Linked DNA regions of Homo sapiens: region 2 is linked to region 1. The links are contacts of gene promoters, found by promoter capture Hi-C in blood cells and fetal thymus (Javierre and others, 2016). All regions are on one chromosome and are shown on one strand. The core of a region is centred on a gene start or on the middle of the fragment in contact, and the rest is flanking DNA. Distances in the headings are between cores, read along the strand shown. Region 1 holds the start of HPS3 (HPS3 biogenesis of lysosomal organelles complex 2 subunit 1). Region 2 has its middle 7.3 kb from the start of TM4SF4.

The links. The method cuts DNA at HindIII sites, captures the fragments that hold promoters and counts their contacts. A CHiCAGO score of 5 or more calls a contact.
Region 2: a fragment that was not itself captured here is called in contact with the fragment with the promoter of HPS3 in region 1 in 1 of 17 cell types (M1 macrophages); the score reaches 6.5 in M1 macrophages.

What each region holds. Positions count from the first base shown.
Region 1 is chr3:149,127,446-149,134,958 of GRCh38, reverse strand. HPS3 (HPS3 biogenesis of lysosomal organelles complex 2 subunit 1) reads right to left here and starts at 5,321. Exons shown (of 17, transcript NM_032383.5): 1 at 5,019-5,321. The coding sequence starts at 5,235. RefSeq lists enhancers at 4,780-5,279, 5,061-5,320. The HindIII fragment of the contact is 10,979 bases long and covers 3,222-7,513 here.
Region 2 is chr3:149,463,650-149,471,162 of GRCh38, reverse strand. It overlaps the pseudogene FKBP1AP4. Among named protein-coding and RNA genes, the nearest start is that of TM4SF4, 7.3 kb to the left of the region's middle. RefSeq lists enhancers at 6,538-7,037, 7,038-7,513. The HindIII fragment of the contact is 764 bases long and covers 3,509-4,272 here.

The DNA of each region.
Region 1 (7,513 bases), core at 4,072-6,571:
AACAAGTTATCTGGATACCATCATAGCCAGAGTCAGCTCTATTTATGTTCATTTGTGGGTGCATTAATAGGAGCTGTACCCAGGGGTTGAAGTTCAAGCTGTGGACTGAAACTTACCCTTGAGCTACATGACCCGTGATGCTAATTCCATCCCACATGACTCTTGAACCTGCTGTAAGGCAGCCAACTGGATTATAAAAACATCTTTATTGTTCAAGGCCTCGTTAATGAGGTTACAATGCTACTCATGGCCTCCTGCAGCCAGTACTGCTCTAGATCAGCGGTTCTCAACCCTGATTAAATATCTGACTCACCCCAATGCTGTCCTCACTCCAGGGAAACTACTACTGTATCTCTGAGGGTTTGGCCCAGGCATAGAGATTTTTAAAAACTCCCCAAGTGATTCGTATGCATAGGTAGTGGCCATCCAAGGATCCGACAGGTAAGAAAGCTAGAAGTTTACATAATACCTGCCACTCCAAATTCTAAAATAAACATCCACTTGGAAGAATGAAGTAAATCATGTAAACATATTATCTGTCTGTGTGTATGCCTGTCTGTCCCTGTCTTTCTTTCTCTCTCTCACACACACACACATATAAAAGTTGAAAGTGGTGAGTTTGTTACTCAGTAGAACTCTTGAAAGTGAGAACTCTTATGCCTTAAAAGGAGTGACGTAGAGAAAACTACCAATATTTTAACAGGTATGACCATTAAAGACAGATTTTATAATACCAAAATTGGAATATTCCTGCTGAAAGGGAACTTAAAGAGTTAATGAGAGGTTTTTCAAACAGGTCCGTGGCCCAGTGCAGGCCCCTGCTAATGTTGTCATTAGGCAAAAACAAAAACAAAAAACCAATGACAGCAGAGTAAGTTGTTCACAAAGCTAAAGATATCCAATGTTTGATGCTAAGTGTTTTTTCTTTTATAAATAATGACAGTAAATAGTAAGGCTTTTCATTTTTTTTAAAAAAAAACACAGGCATATCCCAGAGATATTGGAGGATTGCTTCCAGACCACCGCAATAAAGCAAATAATGCAATAAAAAGAGTCACATAAATTTTTTGGTTTCCCAGTGCATAAAAAAGTTATGTTTGTACTAGATTATAGTCTATTAGGTGTGAAATTGCATTATACCTAAAAAACAAACAAACAAAAAAACAAAGCAATGTACATACCTTAACTAAAAATATTTTATTGCTAAAAAAAATGCTAACGATCATCCAAGCCTTTAACGAGACATATCTTTTCACTGGTGAAGGGTCTTGCCCCGATGCTGATGGCTGCTGACTGATCAGGGTGGTGGTCACTGGAGGCTGGGGTGGCTGTGGCAAATCCTTAAAATAAGACAACAATGGGCCGGGCACAGTGGCTCACACCTGTAATGCCAGCACTTTGTGAGGCCAAGGCGGGTGGATCACCTGAGGTCGGGAGTTTGAGACCAGCCTGACCAACCATGGAGAAACCCCATCTCTACTAAAAATACAAAATTCGCCACAAGTGGTAGCGCATGCCTGTAACCCCAGCTACTTGGGAGGCTGAGGCTGGGAATTGCTTAAACCTGGGAGGTGGAGGTTGTGGTGAGCCGAGTTCACGCCACTGCACTCCAGCCTGGCCAACAAGAGTGAAGCTCTGTCTCAAAAAAATAAAATAAAATAAAATAAAATAAAAAAATAAAACAATTAAGTTTGCTCCATCAATTGACTCTTCCTTTCACAAAAGATTTCTCTGGAGCATGCAATGCTATTTGATAGCATTTTACCCACAGCAGAACTTCAAAATTGGAGTTAATCTTTTCAAACCTTCTCATTGCTTTATCAACTAAGTTTATGAAATATTCTAAATCTTCGTTGTCTTTTGAACAATGTTCCCAGCATCTTCAATAGAAACAATTCCATCTCAAGAAACCACTTTCTTTGTTCATCCATGAGAAGCAACTCCTCACCCATTCAAGTTTGATCATAAGATTGCAGGAATTCCAACACATCTTCAGGCTCCACTTCCAATTCTAGCTTTCTTGCTATTTCCACTACATCTACTGTTATTTCATCCACCTAAGTCTTGAACCCCTCAAAGTCATCCATGAGAGTTGGAATCAACTACTTCCAAACTCCTGTTAATGTTGGTATCTGATCTCCTTCCATGAATCCTGAATGTTTTTAATGGCATCTAGAAAGAGTGAATTCTTTCCAGATGATTTTCAATTTATTTTGCCCAGATCCATCAGAAGAATCACTTATCTGTGGCAGTTATAGCCTTACCAAATGTATTTCTTTAATAATGAGACTTGAAAGTCAAAATTACTACTTGATCCATGGGCTGCGGAATGGATGCTGTGTTAGCAGGCATAAAAACAACATCAATCTCCTTCTACATCTCCATCAGAGGTCTTGAGGGACTAGGTGCATTGTCAATGTGCAGTAATCTTTTGAAAAGAATATTGTTTTCTGAGCAGTAGATCAAAACAGTGGGCTTAAAATATTCAGTAAACAATGTTGTAACAGCTGTGCTGTCACCCAGGCTTTTTTCATTCTAAAGCACAGGCAGAGTAGATTTAGCATAATTTTTAAAAGGGCCCTATGATTTTCAGAATGGTAAATGAGAACTGGCCTCAATTTAGTCACCAGCTGCATCACCCCCTAACAAGAGTCAGCCTGTTCTTTGAAGCCAGGCATTATCTTCTCCTCTCTAGCCAAGAAAGTCCTAGATGGCATCTTCTTCCAATTTAAGACTGTTTTGTCTACACTGAAAAAATCTGTTGTTTAGCACAGCTGCCTCCATAAACTCATCTTAGCTATATCTTCTGGACTTCTGGATAACTTGCTGCAGATTCTACATCATCACTTGCTGTTTCACCTTGCACTTTTATATTATGGAGACAGCTTCTTCCCTTAAACCTCATGAGCTGAACTCTGCTAGCTTTAAACTTTTATTCTGCTGCTTCCTCACCTCTCTCAGCATTCACAGAGTTGAACAGAGGGCCTTGCTCTGTATTAAGCCTGGGCTTAAGGGAGTATTTTGGCTGGCTTGATCTTCTACCTAGAGCAAAGTTTTTTTCCTATCAGCAATAAGGCTTTCTAATCATTTGTGTTCACTGGAGTAACACTTAATTTCAAGAACTTTTCCTTTGCAGTCACAACTTGGCTAAGTGTTTGGTCCAAGAGGCCTACCGTGCAGCCTATCTCAGCTTCTGACACGCCTGCCTTCCTCACTAAGCTTAATCATTTCTAGCTTTTGATTTAAAGTGAGAGACGTCCAAGTGTCACTTGAACATTTAGAAGACATTGTAGGGTTATTAATTGGCCTGATTTCAATATTGTTGTGTCTCAGGGCCTAGGGCAGCCTGAGCAGGCAGAGACGATCAGAGCAGTAATCAGAACATACACAACACATATCAATTAAGTTCACCATCTCACATGGGCACAGTTCATGGCACCCCAAAACTACTACAATAGTAACATCAAAGATTGCTGATCACCGTAATAGATACAATAATTATGATAAAGTTTGAAATATTGCCAAGAACTATCAAAATGTGACTCAAGAGACATGTAGTGAGCACATGCAGTGTGAAAAATGGAACTGGTAGATTTGCTCCACACAGAGTTGCCACAAACTTTCAATTGGGGAGAAAAAAACACGCAGTATCGGCAAAGTACAACAAAGTGAAATGCAAAAAAAACAAGGTATGCCTGTATATGTCTTTACTTGACAAAATAAGCAGTCAGATACTATGTATGGTAACCCCACAGTTTTTAATTGAGCCACGAAATCCCAGGGTCTGGATATCACTGATCTATTTATTCAACTTTTTGTTTTTTTTTTTTTTTTTTAACATAAACTCAGACCCCAAGGTTTCTATAAACTCACACCGAACCAGCTGCGGGGTAGGGATTAGAGAGAGATCTCCAATCTTCCAGGTTCAAGTTCTCCACTTCATTAATAGCATAGCCACCAGCTTTTGCAACGTAAATACTGAACTTTACACCCATCTTGTAAAGTATGAATCGAAGGTAAGTGTATTAAAGGAATTATATGGTAAATTCTTCTGTAATCTAAAAGGGATCTAGTTTTAAATGTTGGATTTTTCTAAAATAGGATTCACCCACACAGTATTTCCTTGGTATTGCTTCACATTTCTGGTGTGAAAGAGTAACGGCTGCTCTTACAACTGTTTGTTTTTGTTTGTTTTGGGACGGAGTCTCACTCTGTCGCCTAAACTGGAGTGCAATGGGGCAATCTCCGCCTCCCCGGTTCAAGCGATTCTCCTGCCTCAGCCTCCCAAGTAGCTGAGACTACAGGCGCCCACCACCACGTCCGGCTAATTTTTGTATTTTTAGTACAGACGGGGTTTCAATAAATTGACCAGGCTGGTCTCGAACTCCTAACATCGTGATCCGCCTGCCTCAGCCTCCCAAAGTGTTGGGATTACAGGCGTGAGCCACTGCGCCCGGCCACAGATGTTTAAGAGAAGAGAGGGGGGCAGTCTGAGTTCTACTTACACACATTTAAAAATCAACACATAATGTGAGCTTTCAAAAACCGACCGGAAGTAGATGGAGGTACAGATGTGAAAGAACTGCCAAGAGTTGGAATAATTGTTAAAGCTGGGAGTACTTGGAGGTTCCGGGATACAGTACTAGTCTCCTTATTCCTACTTGTTTTTTTGGTAAGTCTTTGAAATCTGATGCACTAAAGAGTTTTTTGTTGTTGTTTGCTTAAGTATCCGAGATGAGTGGAATCCAGCCAGAGGCCTTTCTGCAGAAAACCAAGACGAAGAGATGTCAGCGTCTCCGCCCCGACAGAAGCAAGCTCATACCTATGCTTGCCGCGACAACCGCATAGCTCAATGCGACTTCAAGCAATCAGCGGCCAGACCCAGGGAGACCATCCGGCAAATTCCGGGAAGCAAGAAGTCCCATCCCTAGCTAGAGCTACAGCCCAGACGTTCGGTCCGCTAGCTAGGAGGCCTCAAGCTGGACCCCAGGCGGCCCCTGGCTCTCTAGATTACTCACCAGCCTCGCTGTAGGCCAGGCGCAACACCCGGCCCAGCGTGGAGAAGGCGCACCGCGGCTGGCACAGCTCCTGGCCGGCCACCGCGAACGCCTCCACCTTGCAGCCCGCCGCCACGAAAAGCGCGTCACGCCCCCCGCCACAGAACCGGTCCGGCTCCAGCTTGCAGGGCACCACCTGCTGCGACCCGAACGGGTGCAGGTTGTACAGCTGCACCATCCCGACGTCCGGCGGGATGGCACAGCCTGCCCGCCCTGCAGGGCGCCCGGAGACCCCGCGCTGACCGCGAATGTAGGACTACTTCCGCGAGCGAGCCAATGACGCCGGGTCACGTGAACGCCAGCCGGCCCCGCCCGCGGCTCCGCTACTTAAAGAGGCCGCCGCGGGGCGTGGCAGGCGTCGGGAAAGCGGTCACGCCAGCCTGGTCAGCCCGCGCTCTGGCGCTGCAGTGCTTTCGGTCTCTGCGCCTCCCACTCCGCCGCGCGAGCTTGCCACTGCTCTATGCTCAGTGGCCGGTGGGTGCGGGGACCGCTGGGTCCCTGCCTTTCGTCTTTTACTGCTTTGGGCCAGGCGGTATGTTTTGGCTTTTGAGTACGTTCTGACAATTCATCATCTATCTTGTAACATTTTGTACTTACTTTGAGGAGCGTTATTCATGTCTCTTCAGTAGTCCCTGAGCTTCTGGAGGATGGGGTTGCAAAAACTGAAATGGGGTGCAACTCGGGGCTAAACACTCTGAAGAGTTGCTTTAAAATAATGGAAATTCTAGAATAGTTCAGCTGGAAAGAGCAAAGCCTTGAACGTGCTTGGCAAAAAGATATTTGTTGAAAGAAAGAATCCATGGACTTCATCTTGTAGGCATTTGACAAAAGACTAGTTTGAGCCCCAGAGGATAGAAGAACTAGGAGGGAAATCCCCTGGCTTTCAGTCCAGTGCTCCTAAAACTATGCAGTAAATTATCTATTCCTGACATCTCAACGTGGAGTTCACGATCGCAACACTTTCCCTTTTCTAAAAAAATCAGATTTAGATAAAACAAGTAGTATAACTTTGTCCAGTTCACCTAGAAAATATATGTGTTAGCATGGATTGAGGGATGCTGTTTTATTTAGGCACACAGGGACATAAATGAAAGTGCAACATTTTCTTCAGTCAGTTTCCAGTTCAGAATTTGTAAATTAGATGCAATTGGATTGAAGTTAAACTTGCCTCCCTTTCCTAGGCCCTTCAGATGAATAAAGTACCTCTAAGTAATGGGAAACAACAGGTTCGTCAAACTCAGTGAGTTAGAGAAGTAAACATGGAGGTAGCTCAGGTCAGGAACTAGGGCTGCAAAAAATCACAGAAGGCTCCTATGGAAAACAACCAGACTAATAGTCCACAAGTTATTTGTTCTAGATACAAAACTTAAGAGCAAATATCAAAATCAATAGTAAAAAAGATTCCTTTCCACAAGTATCTGCCATATTATTCTTTTTGGCTTAATTTTCTTCTTCAAGACTTAATTATCCTAATTCAATTTTCTCCTAATGAAGACTGATATTAACTTTAGTGTAATTTCACCTGCATAAAAAGAATGTCTGTTTTGGAGAAAGAAGTGAGATTTGCTCAAAACCTGGAACCCCATTCCTTCCTAGAGATAGTGTCTTCTTCCTTGCTGTAGTCACTGCACCTGACTCATCTAAGATTCTTTGGGAAGAGACATGCTACCCAAGGGAAGGTGGGGCATGTGTCTGGTTTCCACGTTTGTCAGGAGCTGTGAGCAGGAGCTGCCCACTTGTATTCCTGTTACGAATGCAGGGGCAGCAATGGCACACCATCAATTCCTTGCGGGAGGTTGCATTTGTTTGCAAGGGCTGCCATAACAAAACACCACAGACTGGGTGGCTTACACAATAGATATTTCATTTTCACAGGTCTGGAGGCTAGAAGTCCAAGATAAGATGTCAGCAGGTATGGTTTCTCCTGAAGCCCCTTCTCCTTGGCTTGAAGATGACTACCTTTTTATTATGTGTTCCTATGGTCTTTCCTCTGTGTGCCTGCATCCCTGGTGTCCTTCCCTTGTCTTATAAAGATACCAGCCATATTAGATTAGGACCCACCCTTATGATCTTATTTAACCTTAATTATTTCTTAAAGGCCCTATCTCTATATACAGTCACATTCTGAGGTATTGGAGGTTACAGATTCAACATATGAATTTGGGGGGAAGACACAATTTAGCCCATAGCACATGCACTTAGGGTAGCACTCTGTTGAAAAGGGTTGTCTTGAGAACTTTCTTCCTTCCTTCCCTCCTTTCTCTCTCTTTCTTTCTTTTCTTTCTTATTTAAAGAGATGGGGTTTCGCTCTGTCACCCAGGCTGGAGTGCAGCAGTGTGATCATGGCTCACTGTACCCTTGACCACCTGAGCTCGAGCAATCCTCCCATCCCAGCCTCCAGATTAGCAGGAACTATAGGCACATACCACCATGCCTGGCTAATTTTTAAAATTTTT
Region 2 (7,513 bases), core at 2,641-5,140, 340 kb before region 1:
ATGTGTGCATAGATGTTAGGTAATAATGCAACATGTTTTGCTTACTATAGGTCTTCAATCAAAAAATAAAGATCAAATCAGGTAGTGAAAGTTAGTGATCTTTATAAAGTGAGAACTAGTGATCTCTATAAATGCTAAACTGATATTACATTTTTGCTGAAAGCCTTCAGGAGGCTTCCATGGCCCTCAGATCTTAAACTTAGTCCTCCCTGATTTGTCTTCCAGCCAGATCAGCCCTCCTGTCTTCCTGCTTCCTGCTCTGCCCGCTTCTCCTGCTTTCCTGCTACACCCCTCCAGGACTCAGCTCAGTGGTCACTTTTTCTAAGAAGTCTTGTTTTATAAGAAAACTGTTTTACTGTCAAGATATGTTTGGGAAATCTGAATAACACAGAGCAAAATAGGGCTCTGAATGAGAACTTTTTAGGGCCTTTAATTTGCAAGTGCATGTGTAATTATTGGAGAGCTGAGAAATATAGTACCCAGCGTTTTCCAAGCTTCAATGCCTGCAGAACCCATCTTTTGTATCCTGTAGCTGGCAGGACCAGGATTTTCCAGAACATCCTTTGGAAAACTTGGAGCTTACTCATTTCCCAAGTGCTTGTGATGGAATCTGTGTTGGCAGAGAGAAAGTGAGGGGTGATTTGAGACAAGGAAGTATAACAAGAGCAAAGATGGAAGATGGGATGAAGCACGATTTGGGGAGATTGTGAGGTGCCAAGTTGGTGAGCTGGGAGCAGGGTTGAGAGCCAACTTGGCCTCCACGAACAAAGAAATGTGAAATATTTTGTCTAAGGGAAGACAGTCACTATTCTCTAAGAGCTCTGACGCTTCATGACTGACTCCTCCATGCCTGGGCCACTTCAACATGAGTGTTCCCTAAAGCACCGGGGTCCTGGGAGAGGCTGAACTACTAAAGGGCCACATGGTCTGGAGAACTAGAAGAAACAGACCTCCCTCTCAGATGTCTCTATCTCACTATCTAGAGTTGTCATCGAGCTCTATAGAAGCAAGCAATTACATGACATTATTGTCCCTATTTTAGAGATGAGGAAACAAAAACAAGTGGTAAACACTGTTCTGGTTATCTTTTTTTTTTTTTGGAACCGGGTATCACTCTGTCACCCAGACTGGAGTGCAGTGGCACAATCTCAGCTCACCAAAGCCTTCACTGCCTGAGCTCAAGCGATCCTCCTGCCTTATCCTCCTGAGGGACCACAGGCACATGCCACCATACCAGGCTAATTTTCTTTTTTTTGAGACAGAGTCTCACTCTGTTGCCCAGGCTGGAGTGCAGTGGCACAATCTCAGCTCACTGCAGCCTCTGCTTCCCAGGTTCAAGCAATTCTTCTGCCTCAGCCTCCCGAGTAGCTGAGAACACAGGCATGTGCCACCATGCCCAGCTAATTTTTGTATTTCTAGTAGAGACGGGGTTTCACCATTTTGGCCAGGCTGGTCTCAAACTCCTGGGCTCAAGCAATCCTCCTGCCTCTGCCTCTCAAATTGTTGGGATACAGGTGTAAGCCACCACATCAGGCCACTGGTTATCTTTTGATGTATAATAAACCAACTCAAAACTGTGTATTTAAAACAATAATCATTTTACTTTATCTCAGGATTTTGTGGGTCAGGAAGATGGGTTGAGACAAACTGGGTGATTATTCTGCTCCAAGTAGTATTGATTGCGGTTATTTGCTGTTGTTCAGTTGTGGCCACATTGGTGTGCAGAATCCAAGGTGGTTTCACTTATATATCAAGGTGGCTTGATGGGAACAGCTATAACACTGGGCTCATATAAAGCTGGGCCCCTCTTTTTCTTCCTTTAGTCTCAGGGCTCTCCATGTGGTTTCTGCAACACTGTAGTTAGACTTTTACATGGTAACATAAGGCTCTGAGATATAAGTAGAAGCTGCCATTGTCTTAAGGCCTGGGCCAGAAAATGGGACAGGGTCACTTTGGCCAATTTTATTGGTCAGTGTAGTCAGAATGATCTCAAATTCAAGGGGAGGGAACATAGACCTCACCTCTTTATGAAAGAAATGTCAGAGAATTTCTGGCCAGCTTTAATTCACCACAGAGATAAAGGTAGATTTAAACCAAAGGAGTCTGATTATAGAGACCATCCTCTTAATCACCACAATATCCTGCTTCAGAAACCAAAGACTGGTACCTATTGTTTGCTCAACACAGAGAGGACAGCCTGCATGCATTTAGGTTTAAATCAAGGGCCTTTCTCTGCTACAGGGTAAATTATCTGGATAATTCCCACAATTGTGTATGGGTAGACACAGCCTGAGTTAGGATTTGCACTTGAGGAGCTAGCAGGCACCATCTACACCTTAAAAGTATCTCCAGTTGTTTTCAAAATTAGAATGAGAAATGCAAATCTCTTCCTGCCTCATGACTCAAAGGGGTGCTATATAGTCCTCTCTAATGCAGGTCTCAGTACAAAAGGGCACAGCTGTGACCTCTCAGAGAGGCATGAGCTCTGGCTGGTAAATCTGTCCCAGATGACCTGCCCAAATATTGATTTGTTTTAGCATTCTTTGATATCATCATGGTTATAGGTGAGAAGTTAACTTTCAACAGGAACTCACCCCTCACCCACTCTCCGTAAGGTAAAACATCACTAACTGCGGTTCCTCATCTTCTTTTTAAAATTAAACATGGGTTCAAAAAGAAACCAAGTTTAAAAATTCATGTTATGGCTTTAAAATGCAGAGAAATTTTAACACTGCATGTGTTTTTAATTTCTATAAATCTGACTTTATATAATTATGTATTATTCTTTTTGTCTGTGCCTTTGTACAAGTGTTTCCCCATTAGTTTTTAAAAATTATTTTTCCAAATAATTTTTGCTTATAAAAATTTACAAACATATTGGGAAATGATAACAACACCAAGACAGCAAGCACAATTTGGAAAAAAAAAAAAACATCAAAAACAACTGTCTTAAAATTTCATGTCAGTGAACTTTCATGGGGGTCAATTTTAGCTTTTGTATATTTATTCTTTTAGCACATTTTTTGAGCACTGATGTGTCAGGTACTGGAGACGTGTTAAATGGACAGAGCTTATAAGAAAAGGAAGATAGATATTAATAATGCTAATAACAGAAAACAGAGCAATTGTATGAAGTTGGTTCTATTTTAATCTGAATTTTACTCATAAGGAAACTGTATCCCAGAGAGATTAAGTAACTTTCCCAAGATCTCATCACTAGTAGCAGGAGACAGGATTTGATCTCAAGCAATCTAGTTTAAAAAAAAAAAGTCTGTGCTCTTAACCTCTACGCATGTTGCCTTTCATTAATCAAACCGTCTCAAAAACATATAATAACAAACTATAATTTGTTCCATGGACTAGAGAGAGCTATGAAAGCATATAGGGTAACAGGGGGATTCCAGTCAGGATAGGGAAGGCTCCCCTGAATAGGCTCCTTTGAAACTATTCATTGCCAAGAATAGAATTTTGATAAAATTACATTATGTAGTAATATTTACTGTAAGCTTGTTACATGCTAGGTATAACTTTAATGCTTTTCAATATTAACTCACAATGTCCCTCTGAGATGGGTGATAGTAACCCAGTAACCTCCCTCTTTGCTATATGGAAGGAAGTTGAGGCTCAGGGGGTAAAGAGTTTGCTCAAAACCACACAGCTAGAAAGCAAGTCAGCACTTGAACCCAAGCCCACACTCTTTAGACTGAGTGCGTGTCTTATGAAAGAAAAGAGCAATGCCAACGAGTTGGAAGGGACATGTTGTCCCACTGCTCAAAGATGCTCTCACTGACTCTAACTATGGATTTCTAGTTGCCAAAGGACTGAGCAAAGAGAGCAAAAATTATGGATAAGACCAAATTCTAAGGCGGTAAAAACATTAAAACTAAGTTTTAAAAGGAAGTAACTCAGTGTAGTAATTGGTAGGATGTGTGACTGCTCTAAGTGCACCTGAGCTACCCTGCCACTGACAGTGGTGGAGAGTCCAGAAGCAAGGTCAAATGATAAACTCCCTTGCTTAAAATTGAATAATCAGTTCCAATTCACAGAATGTCAAAGTTAGATAAACCTTTTCCCTTTTATAGGTTTTCAAGACTGAACTGCAATTGCAAAAATAATTCCTACTTGCAATAACTACTGTGATTAAACCTAAAGGGTAGAGAAATGCATCCAGGTCTTTGGTGGTCTTCACAGTGTGAGGCACAATGTAGAGGCCCAATTTATTTTTAAATTGACATTAGCTTTTCTGTGATTACCCATATGTATATCAAAGCTTCTAGCAAAGTTACAGACCAAGGCTTCTCAAATTTTAATGTGCATGTAAATCATCTGCAATCTTGTTAAAATACAGATTCTGATTTAGAAAGTCTGGGACAGGGCCTTAGATTTTGAATTTCTAACAAGCTTCAGGTGATTCTGGCAGTCGGAGGGCCATACATTGAGGCTGGACACATTTATTACTCTGCTTACTTTGGGGCAAATGGATGCCCTTCCTTAGACTTCCCACTGGAGCAGCTCATTGTGGGGTGTTTCAAGTAGTTGCTACTTGCTCTAACAAACTTTTGTTCTTGGGACAGTCACTTGCCAGCTTAGGGATTTCAGAAGGCTCTAGGGTCGGAAGAGACCCCACATCACTCTAGCTTGCTGTTTTCTGCATGCTTTATGGTGGTGGTTGTCAAAGTATGAATCGGTTAAAAGCTTGGGCTGCCTTTCTTTAGATGGGCCTGCTTCTCAACAGTCATCTTCCCCTCTTACTCACTCCCTACTGCATTCCGCAACTGTTATTCCAACCCTTTTCCACATTCCTCAAACCCTCCCTCCTCCCTCGCCCCAACTCCTTTGAGAGTTATAACCTCTCCTCCCACTTGCAGAAATGAAGGCCCAAGTTCCTTCATCCATCTTCCTTTCAGCCTTATAATATTTTTATATGAACACTTTCCTCTTTCATCCACATTTTATTCTTATCTTCATCCATTTTTATTATCTTTCCCCTGTCAGCAGATTAATTCCCTCACTGGTGCTTTTGTTCCCATCTCTAAACCTTCCCTGAGACTGTACCACCAATTATCATTATTCTGTCTTAAAGATTTAGTATCCTCTCTTACCTATCTCTTCATTCTCTTCACACAGTCTCAGTTCTCACTTTGCCTTTCCTAAATTTTTATTAAAGAAGTTAAAAAATACCCACTAGGTATAGAGAATTGTATAATGAACTCCCATTTACCCATCAAACAACCAGAAATAATCAAATTTTTCCATTTTTGAATTCTGTCTTGGAAACATCTTCCCTTGACCCTGCTCCTTTCTCCTCTTGACCAAGCCTGTCTCTCCAGTTCCCAGCCCCCTCTGATTTGTTAACCTCTTGCCATCTGGTTCCTGTCCCAGTCTCACTATGGCAAGTTCATCAGTGCCATTACCCGTTACTGAACCCCGTGGCCATGTCTCAGGCTTCATTCTCCTTTGACCTCCTTGCAGCGTTCCACTATTTCTGAGTCTCTTCCCACTGAGCAGCTGGAAGCACACTGGCTATCTGCGGAAGGACTTTGGAAGCCAGCACTCTGAAGCTTGTTCCCTCTCCTCCTCCCTTCTTCCCGGGACTTTCAGGGCTGTATCTGTTTTTCAAACTTATCACCATGTCAGAACCTCTAATCTTACCTCTGGGCCAGAAATGGAGATGGGACACTCCTTAAAAACGGTGACAGTATCTTATAGAAAGGTAAAGTCCTTAACTGTACCTAGCACGGTGCCTCCACTTAATCAAGGCACCATAAAATACGCGCTGATAATAGTGATGATGACGATAATGACTGCCACCGACATACAACTGTTAAACCAGACTATGGAAAATACAAGACAGGGGAGTGAGCTGGAAGTCACCCTGCCTGCCCACTTCCACACTGCACGGGCGGACCCTCAAGCACTGGAAGAGAAGTTCCGGGGCTGGGCTGGCCTGGCAGTAGGCGGCGGAATGGAGACACGGACCCAGGACCGGGCCTGACTCCGGCCCCACGCTGTCCTCTTCCTGGGATGCCGCAGGGCGGGGCCCTGACCCACAGCCTCCTTCTCACTCGGGCAGTCTCAGAGCCCGCGACTTCGAAAGTGAGGAGCTGCTGGCGCCGCGTGCTGCAGGCCAGGATCTGGTGAGTTTGAAGAGAGGCCCGGACAACCAACATGAAAACCCCTGCTTCCTTTTCCTGAAGTGTAACCCTGACGGAGGTGAAGAAATAGCTTCTATTGGCATTTTAAGTTCAGCAAGAAATACGGAAGTGTACCCAGGAGAGGAGTACTGTGGAACCAGCAGGGGCAAGAATGTTTATACTGTCCTGGATTACAGGACTGTGAGGACGTGGGAAATTGAAAACCCAAAGAAACAAAAAAAGTGTGTTTAAACCACGGACGATGCAGAACAAAAAAATGTCATTCCCACAACGTGCACATATAGTAGAGATGGAAATCTCATAGCAGCCGCCTGCCAGAATGGAAGCATGCAGATCTGGGACCGATATCTGACGGTTCATCCTAAGTTCAACTATAAACAGCCTCATTACTTGGGCACAGACACTTCTTGGCGTGACTTTTTCCTATGATGGTAATGTCCTTGCCTCTCGTGGAGGTGATGATTCGTTAAAATTATGGGACATCCGACAATTTAATAAGCACTTTTTTCAGCCTCGGGTCTTCCCACCATGTTCCCAATGATTGACTGCTGTTTCAGTCCAGATGATAAGCTCATAGTCACTGGTACGTCTGTTCAAAGGGGATGTGGCAGCGGCAAACTTGTTTGCCTTGAGCGTAGGACTTTCCAAAGGGTGTATGAAACAGACATCACAGACGCTGCCTGCGGCATCCAAGGCTGAACCAGATCATGGTTGGAACTGGAAATGATTGTCTAAAGTCTATTACAACCCCAACAAGAGTCAGAGAGGAGCAAAATTATATGTGGTTAAAACCCGGCGAAAGGGGACTAGGCAGAGCCATGGAACCGCTGCCAGGTCGCTGTGAGTCCACGCCGCCCCTCGCGCTGCCTGCCCACCCAGCGTCCGCAGCCGCCATGGGAGTGCAGGTGGAAACCATCGCCCCAGGAGACGCGCACACCCTCCTGAAGCGCGGCCAGACCTGCGTGATGCACTACACCGGGATGCTTGAAGATGGAAAGAAATTTGATTCCTCCTGGGACAGAAAAAGCCCTTTAAGCTTATGCTTGGCAAGCAGGAGGTGATCCCAGCCTGGGAAGAAAGGGTTGTCCAGATGAGTGCGGTGACCCGCCAATTTAGTGACAGCCAAACTGACTGTATCTCCAGATTATGCCTACGGTGCCACTGGGCACCCAGGCATCATCCCACCACACGCCACTCTCGTCTTCGATGTGGAGCTTCTAAAACTAGAATGACAGGAATGGCCTCCTCCTGTCATTCCAGTTTTAGAATGATCCAAGATCCAGATCCCTGTTCTTGGATCTGCCAAGGAGGGATCTGGTGCCTCCAGACGCGTGCACATGAATCCATATGGAGCTTTT